Regions from separate parts of the Homo sapiens genome. Here all the other regions are linked to region 2. Evidence: promoter capture Hi-C in human tissues and cell types (Jung and others, 2019). All regions are on one chromosome and are shown on one strand. Each heading gives the region's core, a stretch centred on a gene start or on the middle of the fragment in contact. The rest is flanking DNA. Distances are from core to core; before and after follow the strand shown. Region 1 overlaps PID1 (phosphotyrosine interaction domain containing 1). Region 2 holds the start of CCL20 (C-C motif chemokine ligand 20). Region 3 overlaps DNER (delta/notch like EGF repeat containing).

Region 1 (3,252 bases), core at 681-3,180, 1.4 Mb before region 2:
CCTTTTATAACTGTAACGTTTTTGAAGAGTTCTGGCCTGTTATTCTTGACAGTGTCTCTCAGTTTGGGTTTGTCTGTATTTTCTAATGATCACATTCAGGTTATGCATTTTTTGGCAGGACTACTACAGAAGTGGCGTTGTAACCTTCTCAGTATATTATATTTAGAGACAAGTTATGTCAATATTTCTCATTGTTAGAGATGGTTATTTTGGTCACTTAGTCAAGGTAATGTCTGCCAGGTTTTGCCAAAGTAAAGTTCTCTTTGTAAAATAATTATCTTCTGGAAAGATTCTTTGAGACAATATAAATATCTTCATTCTCATCATATTTAGCCCACTAATTTTAGCCTTAAACAATGATTCATGCCTGAAACATTGCTATAGTGTTTGCAATATGGTAACTTTAGATTTTGATAATTTCTTCTATATTTATAAAAGTATAACTTTACTGTAAGGATGAGTTTCTTCTTTCCTCCCTTCTTTCGTTTCTTCTTTTCTTCTTTCCCTTTCTTTCCTTCCTTCCTTTTCTCTCCCTTCCTTTCCTTTCCTTTCCTTCCCCTTCCACTTCCCCTTCCCCTTCCCCTTCCCCTTCCTTTCTTTTCTTTTCAGTACTGTTCATTGATATTTTTTTTAGTCTAGGGTTATAATCCATTACAACCATTATTTATTGTTACTGAAATTGTCTAATGTTGGCCAAGTTGAGAGCTATTTCAGGTTATTCCCAGCGTTCATCCGACAAGTCCTCATCATTTTATGAGCACTATCTTCATTTCTAGCTCAACAAGATGCCCTGGGATCATCTTTTGCTTTTCTTGCCCCAGTCCTAGAATTAGCCATTTATCCAAGGAGAAGGACATTGACTATTAATTTCATAGGGAGTAATATCAATGCAACAGTTCAGTTTCAAAGTCAGCATGGAGATTAAAATCATGTAGAGTCAAAATTTTACTTGGGAATCTCTTAGGAAGGCACCATGTTAGAGGTCAGAATTTATTTCTTAGTCTGTTCCACTCAGCAAATTTTCCCTCTAGCATTGAGCAATCAGATGAAGCCATTTGAATGAATTAAAGGGCCATATTACTTGAAACTATTTTTTCTCTGAAAAATAATTTTAATGAGGTATACTCGACATATAATAAACCATGCATATGTAAAGTGCACAAGTTGGTAGGTTTGGATATTTGTAAACCTGCATGAGACCATCGCCACAAAGCTTTCTTCATGTACCTCACTCTCCTCTCTTCGTTCCTCACTATCCCCAGGCAACAACTGATCTCCTCTCAGTCACTATCCATTGATCTATTTCCTACAATGCTATATAAATGGAATCATACAGTATGTTCTCTTTTTTTGTTTGTGTTCTCAGGATAATTGTTTTATAATTTATGTTGTAGTGTGCATCTGTAGTTTATTCCTTTTCACTTTGTTGAGGAGCATTCCATTGTGTGGATATACCACAGTTTGTCCATTCGCTTGATGAGAAACATTTAGGTTGTTTCTAATTTTCTGCTCTTAAAAATATAGCTACTGTGAGCATTTGTGTACAAGTCTTTTATAAGGACATCTGCTGTCATTGCTAATTTTTCATTGCTAGACAATAGAAAACAATAGAATTTTGTATATTGATTTTGTGTCCTTCAACTTTGCTAAACTCATCCATTCTAGTAGTTTGCTTTTTTTTAGGTTATCTAAAAGAATTGTTGGATTGTCTACAAAGATAATCAAATTTTCTATGAATAAAGACAATTTTACTTCTTCCTTTCCAATATGGAGTCTTATTATTTCTTTTTATTGCCTTATTGCACTGGTTAAAACCATCAGTGTAACATTGAATATAGTTTTAAGGTCATTGCCTGTTTATTATAACATTGTTGTCAGTTCTGGGTAGGCTTTCATTAACTGGTTTATTAACCCTCATGGATTTTATTTTCTTCCATTTTTGCATGTCTCATGTCTGACAATTTTTTTTTTTATTTTTGAGACTGGGTCTCGCTCTGTCACCCAGGCTGGAGTGCAGTGGCTTGATCATAGCTCACTGCAGCCTGGAACTCCTGGGCTTAGTGATCCTGCCACCTCAGCCTCCCAAGTAGCTGGAACTATGGCTAATTTTTTGTAATTTTAGTAAAGATGGGGTTTCACCATCTTGCCCAGGCTGGTCTTGAACTCCTGAGCTTAAGCGGTCTGCCTGTCTCAGCCTTCCAAAGTGCTGGGTTTACAGGCATGAGCCACCATGCCCGGCCTTGTCTGGTGATTTTTGATTGGATGTTAGGTCATTTAAATTTTACCTTATTGGATACTGGATATTTTTGTATTCCTATATTCTTCAACTTTTTGTTGTTGTTAGATTCTGTTAAATTACTTGGAAGCAATCTGATCCTTTGAATCTTCCTTTTAAGATTTGTAGGTGAGACCAGAGCAACATGTAGTCTAGTGCTAATTTCCCCACTAGTGGCACTAGAACTTCTTTATTTCTCTACTCATTGCTCTGTGACTCATGAGTTTTTTCAGTCTGGCTGATGCGAGCAGGCAATGTAACTGGCCCTGTGTGAGCACCAGCACTCTAACCTCTTATTCTTTCCAGTGGATGTTGTCCAGCCTTGAGTTTCCTTTTATGCATATGCTGATCAGTAGTCAGCTGAATATTTAAGGAGACCCTCTGAAAATTTACAGAATTCTCTCTCTGTGAAGTTCTCTTCTCTTGTTTGTCCCCCCAGGCTTTCATCTCTGTCTCCTTAGCTCAGGGATTCCGCTGCACCCTGCTTGTGTTTCTCCTCCCTGCTCTGCAGCCTGCAAACTGTTTCAAGGCAGGAAGCTGGGCAGGTGTACATCTTACCTCATTTGTTTCACATCTCTCAGGGGCCACTGTCCTTCATTGCTTCATACCCAGGGTCACAAACTGTTGTTTCTTAACTTCTGGTTGTTTTAAGTAGGAGGGTCATCCCTGTTCATGTTAATTCATCCTGATTAAAAGTGGAAGTAAACAATATTGATTGTTAGCATTTTAATTGTATTCAGTGCAACAAGATACTCACACCACAAGGGGCATGTGGGAATAACTCAGAGAAGAGCAGATTTCTAAGTACTTGTTCATGTCCCATCCTCATTGAGTGCAATGACAGACAGACATGTTGACCTGTTTATATTGTGTTATATTATTATTCTATCATTCACTGACTCACACCCTCTTAGTTCAATTTTCATAATTTAAATACAGGTAGGAGTCAATTCAGCTATACTTGAATTTTTTTTTTT
Region 2 (3,567 bases), core at 195-2,694:
GTTGAGAACCAATCTAACATAGTTTACAGTTCTTTGAAAAAACAGTTTGTGTGCCGAGAAGTTTTGGTTCAATAATAGAATTGAGAAACACAGGACTTCTCATAAGTGGGATATCTTCAGTAAGAAATACAAATTGACAATATTTCATTTCAGTTCACTATAATCATTCAAGAATATGAGCAGCCCCTTCCCTACTGCTTGAAGGAACCCTTATGTAGATAAACTTCCAAAAGCAGAAAATGAATAAATTGGCAGATTTTAATCTATTATCTGGCTACTAAGTATTGAGAAATAGAGCTACAAAGGGAAATATGATTTATAGGAGTGAAAACACTTTGAAATTGTCCTATTAATTAATAGGAATGTTTAATTTTGTTCATAAAAGTTCAACATGTGGTTGGGCATGGTGGCTCATGCCTGTAATCCCAGCACTTTGGGAGGCCAAGGAGGAAGGATTGCTTGCCTCCAGGAGTTCGAGACCAGCCTGGGCAACACAGTGAAACCCTGTCTCTACAAAAAAAAAAAAAATGTAAAAAAATTAGCCAGGTGAGTGGCACACGGCCGTGGTCCCTGTTATTCAAGAGGCTGAGACTGGAGGTTCACTTGACTCCAGGAGGTTGAGGCTGTAGTGAGCTGTAATCATGCCACTGCACTCTGGCCTGGGTGATGAAGTTAGACCCTGCCTCAGAAAAAAAAAAAAATTCAATGTGCATTTTTAGGAATGCACCTGTTGCTAAAAGTGTTGTGTGACTATTGAGCAATAAAGCAATACTTGGACATTCCCGAGTCAGATTACAACATGCTGTAAGGTAAGGGATTAATGTTATTTTAAAGTTGGCAAGCAATGTCCCCCATGCCTTGTGGGGATGTTGATGTCAGGTATTATAATCTACTTCTAAAGGATGAGTTTTGAACTTTACCAAAACTATTAAGTTGGGAGGTACGAAAGTTGGGGACACAGGAGGATTCTCTACATTTCAAAATGGCCCCATCTACTGGTAACATTACACACTTTATATCACTCCCAGAAACATCACTTTGGCTTTATCCTGAAGTTTAGGGATCTCTAAGAGCCCACCACTCCCCAAATCTGCTGAGATTGACAGCAGAGAGGAAAGCCTGATCCGCAGCAGTAACTCTTCTCTCCTCCACTCCACCATGGGCAGACAACTTCCATCACTACCTCTTGTATACTTCCTAACAGTTTTCCATCCCTTAGGGACCCCCAGTTGAGCTCAAGGCTAAAAGGAAAATGAAAATAGTCTTTCTTCTGTGCTAGCGGAAAGAGCGACACTTACCTTCTGATTCGCCGCAGAGGTGGAGTAGCAGCACTGACATCAAAGCAGCCAGGAGCAAACTCTTGGTACAGCACATGGTTTTTAGCTCAAAGAACAGATCTGCTCAGTGTTGAGTACCCAGTTCTTTGGGAGTGCTGTTATATTCTGACAGCAGCCTGGGATGGCCCTATTTATAGCAAATATTGGGAATGTACACAGAAGGCGTGTTGCCACATGGGGTTTTCCCCATTGATCAACTGGCCCCATCATGTCATCATAAAAAAAACCCGCAAGGAAAACTTCCTGCTTTTTCCTCATATTGGGAAGGTGCGAAGGTCAGGGTGGGGGACAGGAAGTTGAGAAGGGGAGAATCCTGTTAAATTCTTTGTATTTGCAAAGAGCAAAAGCAGCTCAGCCCTGTGACCCAGAAAAGACTTTCATCCAGTTTTAACTTAATCATTTTTGTGTCTGAAAATAGAGGATTAACAGCGATACAAAGGTCAGCCCCACACAGGAACATTCCAGAACTCCTATTGTTACACCCTATTTGCTTTCCAGAACCAGTCAAGGAGGAGGGGGAGGAGGAGCAGGTGGGATGCCAGGCATACTCTGCTACACATTTACCATCACATGGTTGAGGTTCAGCTGTCATGAAGAAGACCCTGAGTTGCTAGACTAACATTCAGAGCAGGTACTATAACAGTGCTACAGTACTGTCCGCAGTTAGAGTGGAAAATATCAGCCTTTAAGTAAGGCTCAAACCTCAGCTTCACCTTGATTTAATGTCAACTCTTCTAAGAATCTTATACATTCACATGGCTTTAATCAATATTGCAGTTCAGAAAATAATCCTTACCTACCTTTAACTCTCCATGATGATGTACTAATATAACTCAATATAGAGCCTCAGAATTGTTGAGGAAAGAAAACCTATCAGCAGTAGCTAGTCAGCACAGCAAATGTCAAATAACAGTACTAATGATGATAATGTAATATGAATCCCTAACCTAAGGCAGTATAAGAACTCTCCACTAGACCCAAATAGGTTGAAAGTAAAAGGATCAAAAGAAAGGTATACCAAACAGTAAACAAAAGAGAACTGGAGTTGGTGATGCCTATATCAGACAAAATAGATTTTTTTTTAATGTTACCGGAAATAAAAAGGGACTTTCATGGTAACACAAAATTAACCCATTGGGAAGATGTAAAACCTATAACCATATATATACCTAACAGTAGCACCCCAAACTACAGAAAGCAAAAACTGACAGAATTGAAGGGAAGAATAGGAAATTTTATTTTATTTTATTATTATAATTTCTTTTGAGACAGAATTTTGCTCTTGTTGCCCAGGCTGGAGTGCAGTGGCACCATCTCGGCTCACTACAACCTCCGCCTCCTGGGTTCAAGCGATTCGCCTGCCTCAGCCTCCTGAGTAGCTGGGACTACAGGCACGTGCCACCACGCCCAGCGAATTTTTGTATTTTTAGTAGAGACGTGGTTTCACCATGTTGCCCAGGCTGAACTCCTGACCTCATTACAGGCATGAGCCACCGTGCCCAGCAGAATAGGAAATTTAACAATAAAAGTTGACAGCTTTGGTACCACATTTTCACTAATTAATAAAATTTAGGCAGAAGATCCACAAGAAAATAGAAGACTTGAACAACACTATAAGCCAAATAGACTTAGCAGGCATCGAAGGACTACTCTATCCAACATCAACAGAATAGTTGCACATGGAATGTTCTCTAGGATAAAGCATATGGTAGGTTATGGAACAAGTCTCAGTAAATGTAAACCGACTGAAATCACATAAAGTATACATTCAAACCACAATGGAATTAAATCAGAAATCAGTAACAGACAGAAAGGAAACCACATATTCCTAAATAACCAATGTGTCTGGCCAGGAGTGGTGGCTCATGCCTGTAATCCTAGCATTTTGGGAGGCCGAGGTGGGTGGACTGCCTGAGGTCAGGAGTTCGAGACCAGACTGGCCAACATAGTGAAACCCTGTCTCTACTAAAAATACAAATATTAGCCGGGTGTGGTAGTCCATGCCTGTAATCCCAGCTACTTGGGAGGCTGAGGCAGGAGAATCGCATGAGCCCAGGAAGCAGAAGTTACGGCGAGCCGAGATCACGCTACTGCCCTCTAACCTGGCCAACAGAGACTCCATCTCAAAGGAAAAAACAACAACAACAACAACAATGTGTCAAAAGAAAAGTCACTAGAGAAAGTAGAAAACAACTTTGAAATGTAAAAAAAAGTCCACAACATATCAAAA
Region 3 (3,635 bases), core at 303-2,802, 1.6 Mb before region 2:
TTATCTTTTACCAAACAGTTTATATTGTGAATAAACATATTGCCAAAATCATTAAAAAATTACAATCCCACTTGGTTTTATAGGAATTGCCTAAAGAGGTCCTTAGTTGGTTGGACTGAAGTCTTAATGATATGTTGATGATTACCAAGATCATGTTTCAATTTTACTCTACCAGATGGTTTCTGATGCCTCAGATCAGAGTGAATGTCCTAGGTTCAATTCATTAGTAGGTGTTGCTTTTAGATTGGATAAGCCCAATTAAAGTAGGTCTAAACTAAGGAATATGTAGTACCTGGTGGTACTATTTTGAGAAGACTCCTCTTTACTACTCCGTAAAAATACCTTTTTTACCAGGTCTCTGATGCCTAAAAGTTTATCTTTGTGGTTTTATTTATTTAAGTTAGACATTGTACCTGGCAATCAACCTTTGTATTAGTTAGTCATTGCTGTGTAACAAAACATTCCAAGACTTGATGGCTTAAGAAAACCACTTATTGTTTGTGATTCTGTGGGTTGATAATTTGGGCAGGGTTTAGCTGGGATGTCTCTTCTCTATTCCATGTGCCCACTCATGCTTTTGTGGTCAGCTGGCAAGCCAGCTGGGGACTGCCGGGTCCTGGATGACCCCTCTTATATTGCTGGCAGTTAGCTGGAGTGATGGGGGCAACTAAGCCACATGTCTCTCTTCATCCAGCAGACCAGTCGGGGCTTCTTCCCACGATTGTAGGGTTCCGAAAGCAGCAACAGAACACAAGGTCCCATATGCATGCTCTCTTTAAAGCTGCTTCTTCTGTTGTTTGCCAATGTCCCAGTGGCATGAGCAAGTCACAGGGCCAAGCTTATAGACTCTGTTTCTTGATAGGAGGAGCTGCACAGAACTTGTAGCTATTTTTTTTTCAATCTACCATAACCTTAAACCTAAATATGTGAAGAATGTGATGTGATGTGTCTGTGTGTGTGTGTGCACGTGTGTGTGTGTGTGTGTGTGTGTATATATATATATATATAAATTGTCTCTATATATGTAAGCAGATTTGAGGAGAAAGAAAGTTGAAAAACAGTGTTTAATCTTTGGTTGCTTGAAAAGAAATGGTGAGGTCCCCTGAACTTGCCTACTCAAGTGATAAGGAATGTCTAGGAGAAAACTTCTTTACTTACCTCATAATTCCATATAGATTGAGCCTTGTTCCTGGCTTTATTTCAAAGAAGTTTCATTTTTCCCTTCAGGTTATTAACATATATATTCTCCTAGAATCTTAAGTCACCAAATAAAAACACACTTCTGATTTTTCACTGCTTTATCAACTCTTAAATGAACAAATGCTGTGTGTTTAGGCATCCTTAATTTAATAAAGAAAGTTGGAAGAGAATTCAGAATTTACTCATATAATTGAGTTGTCATTTCTGATTTATTTACATTTTGAAATTTTCTTTGTAATCCAGTTGCATCAAGGCTGAATTTCCCCATGAAATTCTTTAGCTGAAGTCCTGACTGTCAGCTTCAGCCCTTGGGCATTTGTAGCCCTTAGGGATAGTGGCCAAGTGGAAGGTGTGTGCTTCTAAAACTGTTCTTAAAGGATCATGAGAAATTTCCCTGGTGTTTAACAATATTTAGGATTTAGCATATTTACTCGAGAATGGCAATGACTAATAGAAAGCTTAGAGGATGACACGATTGCATTGTGCCTGTGAATGTCCCCAGTGATAGGGGAATGAAAGTAAATACAGCCAGAAAGATAATCGTGGTCTGCATTGTGGACTCCGTGTACCAAAATTTTCTGGAATAATCCCAGTCACAGTATTTTGTTTTCCATCACACAAATACTTTGCTACCAAACTATGTATCTATGAGGCCACCTCTGATATATAATTGGAAACAGCGCAACTTTGTCAGATCATGGTTCCCAATTTTTGGTTTGCAAAAATTGTTACCTTAGATTGTTTATGCTTTTTTCTTTCTTTCCTTTTTAAAGTAGAGCTTTTATGTTTTATTCAAAATATATTTTAAAAGATAAGCAACATAAATTACCTTCAGAGCAAATTTTCGGCAAGATAATTAGGAATGCAAAAAGCTAATTCACAAATGTCTAGTATATGATAGTCAATTTGAAACACACTTAATCTTTACAAAACTATAATATTATTTTTAATATTACCTACTGGTCTGTATGTTACTCAAAATCTTAATCTTGGTGCTGTATTAAATACTTCTAATATCTTCCATTTTCTGACATTCCTTTCTGCAAAAATATTATTCCTGTGGGTTAAGGAAGCTAGATCAGAGATGTGGGAAAAATTGCCCTCACGAATTTGAATATGAACTTGTTTATCCTCATTCCGCTTAGGCATGTGTGACTCCTAGTCATACAGTGAGGAACTAGAACACATTGTGCCACAGCTATATCCTTATTACTTTCCCTCATTCTGGCCTTTCTTTTCCAATACGTCATTTGTTGTCACTTTGGGATTCCTTTGTGTTACTTTTTTCCCTTATGTAAACCTCGAGAGGAGGGTAGCTTCCTTTAGTCCATGTGCCGATGGCTGGTAGATCATTTGACTATATGTTTCACTGTTGGTTTATTTATATGCCCATAGCTGGTACATGTTCTGACCATATGTTTTGCGGTTGGATTAGTTAAACGCGCTTAGGAGATGCCATGGCTGTTAAAATACAAAACCGGCTGGGCACGGTGGCTCACGCCTGTAATCCCAGCACTTTGGGAGGCCAAGGCGGACGGATCACATAGTCAGGAGTTCGAGACCAGCCTGACCAACATGGTGAAACCCTGTCTCTCCTAAAATTACAAAAATTAGTCAGGTACGGTGGCAGGCACCTGTAATCCCAGCTACTCAGGAGGCTAAGGCAGGAGAATTGTTTGAACTCAGGAGACGGAAGTTGCAGTGACCCTAGATTGCGCCTTTGCACTCCAGCCTGGGCGACAGAGTGAAACTCCATCTCAAAACAACAACAACAACAACAACAACAAAACACAAAAAATCCCATAACCACACTATATGTAGCATTTTCCTTGGACAACCCCTACCATTTCCCCGCATTTGTGAGAGTCAGAGATTGTGGGAGACGTTGTATACTTTTCTATTCTATAGCTTAGTGGCTCTCAAACTTGAGTGCTCATCAGAACCATGTTAGAGGGTTTAAGTCATGGAGTTCTGGGCCCTACCCTTAGAGTCCCTGAATCAGCGGGTCTTGAGTGTGACCTGAGAACACGCATTTCTAACTAGTTCCCAGGTGGTGTTGATGCTGCTGGTCTGGGGACTGCACTGAGACCCAAGTGTGATGAGTGCGGATACCTCAAATGAATGTCTATTAGTAACTAAGAGGTCAACTAAACCAAATTTAACCAATTGATTGTGAAATAAATTAAAAGGAAATAAACATTTTAAAACTCTTCTATACTTTTATACCGTTTAAAATTTCTCTTTGTTAGTATGCATACTTGTGTAAAAGTAATTATCTAGGTTTTATTTTCTCTTCAAAGTGCCATAATAGAGTCTTAGTCTTTGATTTTCCCCCCTCCCACCCATTTGTTGCCTTTGCTGGCCCCAGCACCCATCTTTGTGCATCCCATAATGAAAAACTTCTGGAATGTGAGGGTGTATGTCTACCTTTGCTT

What was found. The method cuts DNA at HindIII sites, captures the fragments that hold promoters and counts their contacts. A contact is called where the count stands out against the background at its distance.
Region 1: a fragment that was not itself captured here is called in contact with the fragment with the promoter of CCL20 in region 2 in 1 of the 25 tissues and cell types used here (heart left ventricle).
Region 3: a contact is called between a fragment that was not itself captured here and the fragment with the promoter of CCL20 in region 2, in 1 of the 25 tissues and cell types used here (heart right ventricle).

What each region holds. Positions count from the first base shown.
Region 1 is chr2:229,164,306-229,167,557 of GRCh38, reverse strand. The region is part of intron 1 of PID1 (phosphotyrosine interaction domain containing 1); the gene reads left to right. Among named protein-coding and RNA genes, the nearest start is that of PID1, 110 kb to the left of the region's middle. The HindIII fragment of the contact is 8,857 bases long and covers 1-3,252 here.
Region 2 is chr2:227,811,719-227,815,285 of GRCh38, reverse strand. CCL20 (C-C motif chemokine ligand 20) reads right to left here and starts at 1,444. Exons shown (of 4, transcript NM_004591.3): 1 at 1,299-1,444. The coding sequence starts at 1,374. The HindIII fragment of the contact is 20,627 bases long and covers 1-3,567 here.
Region 3 is chr2:229,432,282-229,435,916 of GRCh38, reverse strand. The region is part of intron 8 of DNER (delta/notch like EGF repeat containing); the gene reads left to right. Among named protein-coding and RNA genes, the nearest start is that of PID1, 160 kb to the right of the region's middle. The HindIII fragment of the contact is 3,048 bases long and covers 29-3,076 here.